Regions from separate parts of the Homo sapiens genome. Here region 2 is linked to region 1. Evidence: promoter capture Hi-C in 16 types of primary human blood cells and fetal thymus (Javierre and others, 2016). All regions are on one chromosome and are shown on one strand. Each heading gives the region's core, a stretch centred on a gene start or on the middle of the fragment in contact. The rest is flanking DNA. Distances are from core to core; before and after follow the strand shown.

What was found. Contacts are between HindIII fragments. The CHiCAGO score rates a contact against its expected background, and 5 or more counts as called.
Region 2: a contact is called between a fragment that was not itself captured here and the fragment with the promoter of CLEC4G in region 1, in 1 of 17 cell types (erythroblasts). The highest score is 6.5, in erythroblasts.

Annotation. Positions count from the first base shown.
Region 1 is chr19:7,730,860-7,733,559 of GRCh38, forward strand. CLEC4G (C-type lectin domain family 4 member G) reads right to left here and starts at 1,251. Exons shown (of 9, transcript NM_198492.4): 1 at 1,189-1,251; 2 at 802-912; 3 at 407-460; 4 at 167-229. The coding sequence starts at 1,243. RefSeq lists promoters at 1,246-1,852, 1,246-1,558, 1,246-1,509 and a cis regulatory region at 1,316-1,325. The HindIII fragment of the contact is 11,720 bases long and covers 1-2,700 here.
Region 2 is chr19:7,144,765-7,147,534 of GRCh38, forward strand. The region is part of intron 11 of INSR (insulin receptor); the gene reads right to left. Among named protein-coding and RNA genes, the nearest start is that of ZNF557, 76 kb to the left of the region's middle. The HindIII fragment of the contact is 1,821 bases long and covers 468-2,288 here.

The DNA.
Region 1 (2,700 bases), core at 1-2,500:
CTGGGAGCCGCAGGGTGAGAGGGGCGAGGGCGGCGAGGATGGGGCGGGACTTCGGAGACCAGCCCCCGCCCCGCACCACCCGCCGCAGGCCTCCGCCCCGGCCCCCCTCCCATCGCGGCCGCAAGACCCCATCCCTGCGCCCACAGCCTCGACCGCGCCCCCTCACAGCAGCTGTGGCAGTCTCCGACCTCCTCCTTCAGGGCACCCAGCGCCGCCGTCTGCTTCGAGGCTGGAACGACCCCCGCCCCAAAATGCATGCCCCTCGGGTCACTTGGGAGGACTCAGGGGACCCCCTTCCAGCCTCAGGGACCATAGGGCCCCCACGCACTCGAGACTCCATCTCCGGGGTCTCAGAAACTCCCGCCCCTCACGCCCCGGGGGCCCAGGCGCCCGGCTCTGCACACACCGTTTGTCCTCAGCAGGTCGTGGCCGTCAAGCAGCGCCGCGCGCTCCGTGGAGGCTGAGGAGAGAGGCTCCTGCAGGCGAGGCCGGGAACTCGGGAATCCTCCCCTCGCCCGGGGGGTGCAGCGTCCCCCAACTCGGGAGCACGGAGCGGGCGGGCAGGCATACAGCTCACACGATGTGCACACACGCCGATGGGAGACAAACGCGCGGGGACTCGCGCACATACGAGCACGCCATGTGCACACGCGTGAGTGCACACGGCCCAAAGATGTACACACACTCTGCTCACACTCAGACGCGAACAGGACCCCAGGATGCAGCTGGTGCGCCATGCAGTGGGGGTTTTCTGTCCCCAGGGGGGCCGGATGCAACACCTCCCCATTGAGAGTCACTCACCCTTGGACAATAGGATACTCAGAATCACAGCCCAAAGGACTGTGGTGACCAGGACAGCCAGGGCCAAGAAGAGGGGTCTCCTGCTCCAGTGCACCCAGCGTCCCCAGGGCCCTGGCATAACAAGGACGGCATGCTGGGTCCCCCAGAACTGAGCCCTGGAGGCCTGAGTTACTCCCAGGAAACTGAGATTCAGAGAAGTTAAGTAACTTGCCTATGGTCACACAGCTTCTAAGCGGCAGAGTTGGAATTGGACCCTGGTCCAACTGGCTCTATGGCCTGTGGTGTCTCTCCTGCACCCACAACCCTGGCCTGTCTCGACTCTTCCCTCCCCTCCCCCATCAAACCCCAGACACTGGGGCAGGGATGGGGCAGTCTCCTTGCTCATACCTCCGGGGACCTCCTCGGAGCTGCCGCCCCACTTGCTGTACCTGGTGGTGTCCATGGCGATGCAGGCACCCAGTCCTGGGCAGAGATATAAATTTCACGCCTGTTCTCACTGGACCTACGCACTCCCTTCCTTCCTTCCCATTTTCTTGGCCTTAATTCCTGGCAACGGGAACCCATGGACCAATCACAGGATTGGGCCCTTTCAAGGCTGGGCTGGGCTGGGCTGGAGTGAGGCCGGGCGGTTCCAGCCTCCTGGTTCTGGCCACTGCAGCTCCATCCCCAGGCTGGTGCTGGAGGCTTCTCTTTGGAGCTTAGTCACCATCTCTTATGGGCCTGGGGCTGGAGGCTTCTCTTTGGAGCTTAGTCACCATCTCTTATGGGCCTGGGGCTGGGTTTTATCCCGCGAGGGACACACTGAACCCGACCAAATTGTAACCCCTGCTGGCTCCTGAGAAAGCCCCCTCAGGCATAGCCCCCCAGGCCAGTTCAGGTCCCTTCTCAACTCCCCTGCAGGTGCCTGCAGAGGCTGGGTTTGAACCTGACCTTGATCCAGTCCCTCTGTACCAGAAGGGAACAAACAGTTTTGTTAGGGAGGTAGCCGGCGGAGCTGCAGGACTCTACCACTGTATGGGTTCTAGGTAGCTTCTAGAAGCCTTAGTTTTCCCCACTGTAAAGGAGATAGCGATGGGCCTCTCTCACAAAGATGCTATGATAAAGAAACAAGACAGTCTTGCTGGCTCACACCTGTAATCCCAGCACTTTGGGAGGCCGACATGGAAGGATCACTGAGCCCAGGAGTTCCAGACCAGACCAGCCTGGGCAATATAACAAGACCCTCATTTCTGAAAAAAAAAAAAAAATATATATATATATATATATATGAAAACAAAAATTGAAAAAATAAAAAAATAAAGACAATGAGGTTATACATGTCTACCTAGCACCATTTCAGGCATATCAAAAACACTCAGTGTTCATGCATTCTTTCAACAAACATTGAGCACCTGCCATATGCCAGGCATTGATCTTGGAACTGGGGCCACATCAGAGAGTAAAATAAGCAAATTCCTCTCTTCTTGGAGCTAATATTCTAGAAGTGTGGGGAGACAGACTCCATACTCAACGTAATAAACATAATTGAAAACATAAGTTGTATAGCATAGTAGTTCCCAGCTGGGGGCAATTACGCCCACCAGGGGACATTTGGCTATGTCTGGAGACACTTTTGGTTGTCACAGAATGTGTGTGTGTGTGTGTGTGTGTGTGTGTGTGTGCTCCAGGCATCTAGTGGGTAGAGGCCAGGGATGCTGCGCAAAGCCCTACAATGCCTAAGACATCCCCCATAGCAAAGAATGATCTGACTCCTAATGTCCATAGTGCAAAAGGTGGGAACCGTAGTATACTCTATTCAAAAGTCATAAATGCTATGAAAAAACATTAAGGGAAGAAAAAATCCAGTAGGATAAGTACTTGGCAGGACTGGGATGGGCACTAGGCAGTGGGCAGTGGCTA
Region 2 (2,770 bases), core at 128-2,627, 590 kb before region 1:
TTCCCCAAAGTAGATTCCTAGAGGAAAATATTACTAGGTTCAGGGAGATAAGAAACTCTTTAAGCTTCTTAATACCTACAGCTAAATGGTTGTCCAGAAACTCTATATTGACTTGTGGTTGCACCAGCAGGCCATGAGACTGCATTCCAGGACAATCTCAGCAACCCCTAAGCCTTAATAGTTTTTTTTTTTCTTTCTATGTTTGTTTGTCTAGATCTTTAACCCAAGAGATTAAAAATATGCTATCACTCGACTACGTTATTTGCGGATCTTTATATTACTGAGTGTGACTTCATTTTTCCTTTATTGGTTCTCTGTGATTCTCCAAAGAATTGTCCCCTCCTTGTCTTTTGTCTGTTTTTCCATGAATTTCTTGTGTTTTCCTTACTCCTGTGTTGTTTATTCATTAAGGATATTAACCTTTTATGTATCGTGCTATACAACTTACTCTTTTCCATTTGCCAGTAAGCTTTCTTTAAATGATTTGAAACAGGCTTTCATGTTTATTTGTACAATTTAATATATCAGTAACACTTTAAAACGTGTTCCTTTATAAGTCATTCTAGATGGGGTTATTATGAGTTGTGCTAAGGTTTTACGGCAATTTTGAAAGGGATCTTTTCCCTTATTTTATATTCTAATTATTGCTTGTGTATCTACAGTCTTTTTGCTTATTTCTATGTACCTACTTTCCCAAACTCTAACTCATTTAAAAAGTTTCATAATTGGCTTTCCTGGGTTTTCAATGACACACTAGAAGAGGGGTCAACAAAATTTTCCCGTAAAGGGCTAGATAATAAATATTTTGGGTTTTGCAAGCCAAATGACCTCTGTCACAACTACTCTGTCATTGTAGCTTAAAGCAGCCCTACATGATGTGTAAACAAGTGGGTGGGGTTGCATTCCAATAAGAGTTCATTTACAAAAACAGGCAGCTAGCCCATGGGCCATAGTTTGCCTACCCTTGAGCTAGACGCTCTGCAAATAGCAATGACTTTATTTCCCACATTCCATTCTTTACAACTCTGATTTCTGTTTCTTGTCTTATTACATTGGCTGGATGCCCAGAGAAATGTTAATTAGTAATGATGAGATGGGGCTTCCTTGTTTTGTTCCTAACTCTGCTAAGAATAATTTTAAGAATGATGTTAGCTTGGCTGTTGGTTTAACCTAGGTAATATTTATCTTGTAGAAGAAATATTCTATTATGAGTTTTATGAAGCCTCTTTTTTTCCTCCCCTTTCTCTAAGTTAGGAATTTTAAATTAAGGTTATTGAAACAGATATGATCTTCCTTATTGCACCTCTTGATGAACTAGATGATGTTATCAAATCTTCTGATCTTAAACCATCCTTGCATTTTGGAGATAAACAATATTGCCAGTGCAGTGTTTTATTTGGGACATTTGAATCTAACATCACATATTAGCTTGGCCTGTGGCTTTTGTTCAGTGCAGTATCTTTGTCAAGTTCTTTTTTTTTTTTTTTTTTTTTTGAGACAGAGTTTTGCTCTGTTGCCAGGCTGGAGTGTGCAATGGCGCAACCTCGGTTCACTGCAACCTCTGCCTCCCAGGTTCAAGCGATTCTCCTGGCTCAGCCTCCCAAGTAGCTGGGATTACAGGCGTGTGCCACCATGTCTGGCTAATTTTTGTATTGTTAGTAGAGACAGTGTTTCACCATGTTGACCAGAATGTTCTCAATCTCTTGACCTTGTGATCCGCCCCCCACCTCAGCCTCCCAAAGTACTGGGATTACAGGCATGAGCCACCATGCTCAACCTCTTTGTCAAGTTCTTTAAGGGTGTTATGTTCATTTCATAAAATGAACTGGGATAACTTTTATAGATTTCTGTGCCCTAAAATAGTTTTTCTATTATAGGAAATAGTTGCTCTCTCACAATTTGAAAGAACGTGTCTATAAAACTCTCTGGGCCAAGGGACTTTTTTGAGGAAATTATTTGACACATATCTTTTTCCAAGGTTCATAACCACTTAATTTTTCTGCTTCTTTTTGAATCCATTTAGACAAGTTAAATTTTCCCACCTTACTGAAACTTTCAAATTTAGCAAGTGCACCATTGTCCAAAGAACTTAACACATTAAAATTTTCTTCAGACGCTAGTTTTATGTCATCTTCTTTCCTTCTGGTTTGTGTTTTCCCTTTGATTATGTTTACCATAGGCTTAGCTGTTATTGCTTTTCCCTTCCTAACACATTTATAGTTTTATAGTTTAAAGTTTATTTCTTAATTTATCAATCCATTTAAGTCTGCTAAGTAACATCAAAGCCAAGCTTTGACAATATTCTACAAGTTAAGGTATGTGATATTCACATTTTCATTATTTTCCAAAAGGACTTCAATGGAAGTTTCCATTTCTGCTTTGGCCCGATAGATATGTAAGTGTTTAACTTTTTAACTTTTTTTTTTTTTAGACAGAGTCTCGCTCTGTTGCCCAGGCTGGAGGGCAGTGGCGTGATCTCGGCTCACTGCAACCTCCACCTCCCAGGTTCAAGTGATTCTTCTGCCTCAGTCTCCTGAGTAGCTGGGACTACAGGCGCACGTTACCACATCTGGCTAATTTTTGTATTTTTAGTAGAGAAGGGGTTTCACCATATTGGCCAGGCTGGTCTCAAACTCCTGACCTCAGGTGATCCGCCTGCCTGGGCCTCCCAAAGTGCTGCGATTACAGGTGTGAGTCACTGCGCCCAGCCTGTAAGTGTTTAACTTTTAACCACCAAGAAGTGAAGTTTTCTGTTTAATCTTTTGAAATT